Linked DNA regions of Homo sapiens: region 2 is linked to region 1. Evidence: promoter capture Hi-C in human tissues and cell types (Jung and others, 2019). All regions are on one chromosome and are shown on one strand. Each heading gives the region's core, a stretch centred on a gene start or on the middle of the fragment in contact. The rest is flanking DNA. Distances are from core to core; before and after follow the strand shown. Region 1 holds the start of CCKBR (cholecystokinin B receptor). Region 2 has its middle 4.5 kb from the start of HPX.

What was found. The method cuts DNA at HindIII sites, captures the fragments that hold promoters and counts their contacts. A contact is called where the count stands out against the background at its distance.
Region 2: a contact is called between a fragment that was not itself captured here and the fragment with the promoter of CCKBR in region 1, in 1 of the 25 tissues and cell types used here (spleen).

The regions. Positions count from the first base shown.
Region 1 is chr11:6,257,827-6,261,983 of GRCh38, reverse strand. CCKBR (cholecystokinin B receptor) reads right to left here and starts at 2,146. Exons shown (of 5, transcript NM_176875.4): 1 at 1,905-2,146. The coding sequence starts at 2,055. The HindIII fragment of the contact is 2,957 bases long and covers 1,006-3,962 here.
Region 2 is chr11:6,443,501-6,447,505 of GRCh38, reverse strand. No RefSeq gene overlaps it. Among named protein-coding and RNA genes, the nearest start is that of HPX, 4.5 kb to the right of the region's middle. The HindIII fragment of the contact is 3,476 bases long and covers 764-4,005 here.

The sequences.
Region 1 (4,157 bases), core at 897-3,396:
CCTCTCTGCTTCTAATCTGTTGATTCCATTTCCAGAAGAGGCTCTCAAATCTATCCACCTCTCTCCATCTCCCTTGCCATTACCTTAGTCTCAGCTAGCATCATCTTTCACCCAGAACAGTGTAATATAGTAACCTTGTAAAGTATCCCCCTGCCTTCCATCTTATGTCTTCCAATCCGTTCTCCACATTATAGAACTAATCCTGGTAGTACTACCGAATCTTTTAGTAGTTCCTATTGCCCTCGGGAGAAAGTCCATGTTCCATGGTCAGGCCTAGCAGGCTCTCTGCAAACCCTCTAGGCTGGTCTCCAGCCTGTTCATTATTCCCTTCTTAAGATATATGTTCTAGTCACTCAAAACTATGTCACAGTGGATAAAAGTGCCATGAATTCAAACTTTGAGCTTCTTATACATCTTGTCCTTTTATTTGGGATGCTTTCTGCCTCTTCTGCCCGTTCACTTGGCTGGCTCTCCCATATGTATATGTGTGTGTGTGTGTGTGTGTGTGTGTGTGTGTGTGTATATATATTTTTTTTTTTTTTTTTTTTTGCCAACAGGAAGCTTAGAGCCAGCCTCCCTAATTTTTTTGACTTTGTAGCTCATTTCCTCAAGAGGCCAACTTTAATTCTCAAGGAGGCTGGGCTGGGCTAGAGGTGTTCCACTTGTGTTCCCACTATCTTTTCCCTGTCAAGGCTCTTCCACTTTGTGCTGCAATCCCCTGCTTTTCTGTCTCGCCCATTAAACTTTGAGCTCTGTGAAGTAGGAATTGTGTCGGTTTTGTTCAACTTACATTCCCACTGCCTAGCACAATCTCTGGTTCAATAAATATTGGCTGAATGACAGAATCCAAGTGTGAGTGTGTAACAACTCGGCTGAGAAAGCATAGATTATTTCGTGGGGTAAATAAATACTTGGATTACAATTTATTCCAACTTTCCCTTTTTGAGTTTAGAAAAATTTCCTTCTGCTTAACATTGCTCCTTCACCTAGAATCCCACTCCTTCCTTTTCTGCCTACTCAACTTCAAGACCCAGCTCTAAGGTTCTAGCCTCTGTGAAGTTCTTTTGGTGCCCACAGTTTAGACCCTTTCATGGGACTTCCATTGTGTCTGTGATTTTTCCATTTGCTTGGTTTCTCTCTGCACTTGGCTATGGGCCATGAGGGTCCAGACTGGGTCTAGTTTGCCCTGTGCCCCCAGCACCTAGCCTAGGGCTGGAGAGAGAGCTTGGAAGATAGCTGGAGACATTACTTGCAGACAAAGAGAGAGGGCACAGAGCCTCGAAAGCTCCAACTAGGGAGGCAGAGGGGTTTGAGAAGGAGTGAAATGGAGGCAGGCAGCTCTAAGGAGCATCCCCTAGTGTCCAGCCTAATTCAGATTTGAGGATCTTTTTTGGGATGGCTGGGGGCTGGGGTGTCAGATGTGATCACAACTTCAGCTTCGCATTCAAGCTTTCCAGAGTGCTCCCTCCCTCAACCAGCCCCCTTCTTTTCCCAGTCCTGCCTTCCTTTCTTCCTTCCCTTCTCTGTTGTGGCTCTGTGAACTGGATGTAAGAGGGAAAAGGAGATCTGCAGGGTTGGCAAGAGGAGGTCCTCGCCTTCTGACTGGTGTCTAGGAGGGGCTGCGTGTTGGGGAAGGGGCTGTGCTTTGGGGTGAGCAGGGGCTCTAGGTGTATTCAGGGGACCAGGATGTGAAGGAGTTCCGACCAGGTGGTGTGAAGCTGTGATGAAGTTGTAGGCTGTGGGGGTGAAGGTGTGAGGGGAGCTGTTTGGGGGCTGAGGGAGTACTATGAGAGGCACGGTGTGGACGTTTGAGAAGGTAGTGTGGAGCTCGTTGGGGGGACTCTATTAGTGTTCTGGGGTACAGTGAGAAATAGCTTGTGGGGGGGGCTGAGGGAGGCACCCACCTCGTGTCCCGGCTCCGCGAATGCGAGGGGGCTCGCAGCTGAGGTTGCCCACACTGCTGCTGTTGAGGAGAGGCGCCCCCGGGCGGCACAGGGAAGCCCCCGGCCCGGGTCCGGTTCCCTGCACGCTCCGGTTCAGCTTTAGCAGCTCCATGGCCCCCGCCGAGCCCGCCGCCTTACTCAGCTCGACCCGGCGGGCTCCCAACGCGGCTCCACCTGCTCACGCTGCGATTCCGGCTCAGGCTCCCGCCGCCCTCCTCTCCCTGCCCCCTGCCCCGCCTGGTCCCCGCCCCCAGCCCAGGCGCCTGCCCTCCACTCTCCCGCGGCTCGCCCCGCCTGGGTTCCCGTCCCTCCGCCAGCCTCTGTCCCGCCAGGTGACTGTGCACCCCCTCCCTGGCTCGGGAGTTCTGCCCCTCCCTGTGCGACTGTCCTCCAGGCTCGCCCCCTCCCTAGATGTGTCCCGTCTCCTCTTAGAGATTTCTCTCCTGCCCACCTCTCTTTATCACCCGCCCCCACCCCCGATTCCCAGGAATGAGAGAGAGAGAGAGAGAGAGAGAGAGAGAGAGAGAGAGAGAGAGAGATTGAAGACAAGAGTATTGGCAGCGTAGGGGGAGGTTTCGGGGAAGGGAGGGTAGGAGGGGTTGGGTAGAGACGGCTGCCACGGATCCAGCATCTTTCTCTGGTGTATCAGGGAACGTGGAGGTGGCGTTGGAGACCAGGTCTGCGTGCGTCACCTGCTGAGGCGCGGATGCTTTAGTCTGAGCCTAGAGCCGCATTTACCGTACTGTGTTGCAGTGGCCGCAGTGACCGTGACACTATTGCTACCGTAGTTCCCTGCAGCTCCTCGCTGCGGGCCTGGGGTAGCTCCTGCATCTGTCTCCGCACCCTCCATCTCCTGTCTGAGGCTTAACACTCAGGCTTGCACTTAAGGGTCCCAAGGAGCCCTCCACAGCTGGGCGGGAGTGGGGGTGGGGCCGGGGCCGAGATTTGGCTCCAGGGAAGCCTTGCCAGGGAAAAGGGCTCCCGGGAGGAAGCTTCTGACTTGAGTGTTGAGGGCAGTTGGGGGTGGTGGCAAGCACTGACAAGGATAAACCAGAGTAAGGTGAGGATGGGATATAATTCTAACGCCGGCCCAGCGCAGGCAAAAGAGAAGGAGAAGGTTGGCTTTCTCCACCGTCTCCAGGCAGCGCCCACGCCCACCCGACACGCTAACGCTCCCTGTTTGCTCTCAGTGCAGGCAGAGCTGCCTGTGTAGGGTGTCAGGTTCCCACGAGAGGGGGCTAGAAGGGGACTGGGTCACTGCGGTGCAGCGGGAACAGGGCTGAAGGGTGCAGGACTGAACTGGGTTCAGCTTCTCGGGGCAGGATTTGCCTCTTCTACTATTTCAGCCCTGCTCCCTATGCATTCTCCTATCCATTCCTTTTCTTCCCCAGATTCCTATCTCCAGATTCCTATCTCCAGATTCCTATCCATTCTTCAGATTCCGGATGAACTCCAATACGATGTGAAATTCTTCTGACCCCCAGCAGTAGCTGTAAGAGGTTGGGGGCGGGCATCAGTGGAAGAGCAAATTAGAGAATGGAGTCTGGCTTTATGGGGGATTCAGCAGGCCCTTATCCAATTAATCTTTTGGAGAGGACCTGGTTCAGCCAGCCCTGAGTTTATAGGGGCTGAAGCATTGAAAGAGAGTTGAAAGACAGTTTATGCCTGAGATGTCATCAACTGCTCCCCCTTTCCTTCCTCCTGGTACTGCCTGTCTTGCCCATCAGAGAGCCTGGACCAGAGGAGCTTGATTTGCTATTTGTTCCGCTCCAGCACAGGTGGGGCCTCAGATAACCTGCTCAAGTTTTCCCACATTGGATGACAGTACGATGAGGAGGGAAGGGAGCAAAGGATGTAAGGGAGAGGGGAGTGAAAATAGAAATAGATGGACATTCACTTATTTAGCAAACTATGCCAGTTCTAGGGGTATGCACTAGTTGTCCAATATAGTTTGCCCCTCAGTAGCACCTACTCTAGTGGGATTTTCCCAAGCAAGCCAATGATTGTAATATATGGTCGTTAAGTGCACCCACCAGGATGTACAAATCAGAAATTTAGGAATTATTATTGATGCCTTACTCCCCTATGCTCCTTCACCCCTGCGCTGGATGCTGTGATGCAAAGCCCAGAACCCTCTTCAAAAATGGAGGATTTATTTTCCAGCTGTGGAGAGTGCTCCTAAAAGATGGCCCTCAGCTGTCATAACCCTTCAGG
Region 2 (4,005 bases), core at 1,252-3,751, 190 kb before region 1:
AGTTTGCGACCAGCCTGGCCAACATGGTGAAACCCTGTCTCTACTAAAAATACAAGTATTAGCCAGGCATCGTGGTGGGTGCCTATAATCCCAGCTACTTGAGAGGCTGAGGCGGGAGAATTGCTTGAACCTGGGAGGCACAGGTTGCAGTGAGCCGAGACTGTGCCACTGCACTCCAGCCTGGGCAACAAGAGCAAAACTCCATCTCAAAAAAAAAAAAAAAAAAAAGAAACCTGATAGATAGGTGGAGGGACCGATGAGCTCCCTGAAGATTTTAGTGCAGGTGCTCTTATGGAGCCTGCCCCTCTGGCTCTGATTGTGAGTGGAATTGCCTAAGCCCATGCCCTGGTCAGCCGAGATGGTGTGCTCAATTATCAGTCGCTCAGCACCAGTGGAGTCCTCCCCGAGAACTCTCAGGTGATGGTCTATTTTTCTGCACCCCTATCTTGAGCAAGGCACCAGAAGTAATACAGAATGGAAACTCAAAGCTTCCAGCCCTCAACCTGTCACATGTTTACATTGTGAACACCTAAAAGTAGCAGGGGAATAAAAAGGCAGTAAGGGTGACCTTCCTTGGGCGGGATGCTGCAAATGGCTCTTCTGCTAGCCCAAGAACAGGCTGCTAGGGCTGATTTCCATAGATTCAGATTAGGTAGTCTTCCCATGCCATGGAAAAGGTACATCAAGGTGGAGTCATTCTGTTCCTTCTAAATCCAGCCGTGGTGGGCATTTTCTTTCCAATTCAGGCCTTGGGGCCAAGTAGATGAAAGTAGTGCCTGACAGTGGAGGCCAAGTCTGGAATGATTGTCACAGATTTGGGGGTCACAGCAAAGCCCCTGCTGTCAGAATGTTATTTTGTGGTCCTGCAAGGGTTCACACTTTGCTCATATAGGGCTGTCTGGTGACCAGAACAGCCCTATGGCCATTTGTGGTCTGCGGGTTCATTTATTTATTGAACAAGTATTTGTTGAGCACTTAATATTAGACAGAGTAATGGGCCCTGGGAATACAGAGAAATGGTCCCTGCCCTTATTAAGCTTATAGTCTAGTGGAGAAGGGAGACAAGTAAGCAACAAGGAACTAAATGTGTAATAACAATTTGAGTTCAAGCTGTGAAGGAAATGAACAGAATACAATGATAGACAATATAGTGTTAAATAGAGTGGACAAGGAAAGTCTCTTTAAGCAGTGACCTGTAGGGTTGGAGCAGGGTGGGTAGGGAACTAGCTGTGTTAAGAAAAGGAGATAGAGATTTTCAGACAAAGGAAAAACAGGTACAAACATCCTGAGGGGTTGAGATCTTGATGTGTTTGAGAATCTGAAAGGAGGCCAGGGTGACTGGAGAGGAAGGAGGGTGGAAGGAGAGAGGAAAGGAACAAGTTTGGAGAATTAGGCCTGACTTCGATCATTTAACTAAGATAAAGAGCTTGGATTTGGTCTGGAGTATGACAGTAAGCCACTGAAAAGTTTAAGTGATAAGGATGAAAGGGATGCCCTGTGAAACAAACTTTAAACTGGGCAGTGATTCTGTGGGGTAGGAAGAGAATTGAGAAAGAAAATCAGAAAACAATTCAACTTCTCTAAACTGTTCCTCTTGAAGACTGTGTATACATTAGAATTACAACTGACTTCGGCCAGGTGCAGTGGCTCCCGCCTGTAATCCCAGCATTTGGGAGGCCAAGGTGGACAGATCACAAGGTCAGGAGATTAAGACCATCCTGGCTAACACGGTGAAACCCTGTTTCTACTAAAAATGCAAAAAATGAGCCAGGTGTGGTGGCAGGCGCCTGTAGTCCCAGCTAATCGAGAGGCTGAGGCAGGAGAATCACTTGAACCCAGGAGACGGAGGTTGCAGTGAGCCGAGATCGCGCCACTGCACTCCAGCCTGGGTGACAGAGTGAGACTCTGTCTCAAAAAAAAAAGAAAAAAAAAAAAAATTACAACTGACTTCAAGAAAAAATTTTAAGCAGGAGCATAAGGTGATCTCAGATACGTTTTTAAAGATCACTGTGGTTGTTATAAAGAATGTGTTGTAGAGGAGCTATTTCAATGGTCACACAAGAAAAGGTGGTGTTTGCATTACTAAAGAGGCAGAGAGAAATGGACAGATTTTATGTATAATTAGGAAGTAGGAATAATAGGATTCAATATTTATTAAATACATACAGTATTTCAGGCGTGTTCTCAGTGCTGAAGATATAGCAGTGACTAAAGCAGGTAGGATCCTTGTCCTGTACACAAAGGCAGCATGGTAGACTGTGGGGTGCTGGAGCTGGCTCATGAGAGCTGATTGTCAAATTTAGAATTTTGAGAGCTGGTTGTTAAAACACAGCTATTATTAAAAATCAAACTATATAAACTTAAATACATTCTATTAAAACCAAAGATAATCAGTACTTAAAAGTAATCACTTCCTAATTATTTTACTACATTTTACTATCCCCTGTGCTCTTGTGATTATTTATATCTATCATATCTGTATGGTAGGAATATTGTATGCAGTGTGTTACTGTACATCCCTTCCCAACTCTACATTTGGTGATGTCTTGTCGGTAGCTTAAAGTTGGCCATGGTAGGAGTATTTATATCACAAAAATCTGCAAATGTTACAAATCAGTGCTTTTTCCCCCTAGAGAGCAGTTGTTAAATATTTGCCAGCGAACCCCTTGATAAGAACACACTATCCTTGTAGGAACACACCCCTAGGAGTCAGGCACCCAGGGTTTAAATCATGGCTCTGCCACTTGCTAGCAATGTGATTTGGCTAAGATACCTAATATTGGCTTCCTCATTCATAAAACGGGACTCATAGTGCTACCTTTGTCTGTTTGTGCTGCTATAACAAAATGCCCATGACTGATGATTTATAATGAACAAAAATGTATTTCTCACAGTTCTGGAGGCTGGGAAGTCCAAGATTAAGGTGCCCAGCAGGTTTGGTGTGTGGTGAGGTCCTGGTCTCTGCTTCTATGATGGCATTTTGAACGCTGCATCCTCTAGAGGAGACAAATGCTGTTCATCACGTGGCAGAAAAGCAGAGGAGAGAGAATCCACTTCTGAAAGCCCTTTTTATAGCAGCATTAATCCATTCATCGGGCAGAGCTCTCATGACCTAAACACCTCTCATGAGGCCGCACCTCCAAACACTGGCACATTGGGAATTAAGCTTCCAACACATCAATTCGGAGGGGACAGAAACATTCAAACCATAGCAAGTGCTATATACATGCTATATATATATATATATAGCACTAAGGCCCATTATAGACTGAGCAAGAGGAGGGGTCAGCTGGGATCAGCAAGCTCTTTGGCTGCCTGGAGCTTTATCCCTAAGCCTCCTACCCCTGAGGAAAGGAGACATTCAGTTCCTGCTCCCTGGAGTATACAGCCACAGACTTCAGGCCCAGCACACCTAGCACTCAGTGGGCCCAGGAGAAATGGCTAAGGTCAGAGAACTCATATCAACAGCAGAGCAGGCTGGACATAGACATAGCCATTCCAAGGGACAGTGGGTCAGTGTCCAGCTTACATCTGGCTCTTGGCAATGCAGGAGGAAGCTCTGTCATTTGCAGACATTTGCAGGTTCGTGTTCAGACCCCTTCTGGGAGAAGTAAAAAAGCTGCTGGTTAGGAGGATAGAGAAGACTACCCAGGAAAAGAGATGGTTGAATTTCTCTGGGCTCGAGTTCCCAGAGAAGCAAGAGATTGAGGTCCCCAAATCCACTCTGGGCAGCAAGGTTTGCAGAAGAAGGGAAAGAAGCATAGAAGGGTGTGTACCACTAAGGATGCACAGCCAGGGCTGAGAGGAGTGTGGGACAAAGGCTGTGGAGAGCTAGTTTCAGAGAGGAAAAACTCCTGGGCTCTGGCCTCTAGTTGAAGGGCGGGAGTGCACTGATTCCTGCGGCCTGCAGGGGGTGCTCAGGCCCAAGTACCGACAAGCTTCTTTCCTCAGCCCCAGTAGGAAGCCTGGGAAGGACCCAGGACCCACAGAAGGGGCCTCCTGTAG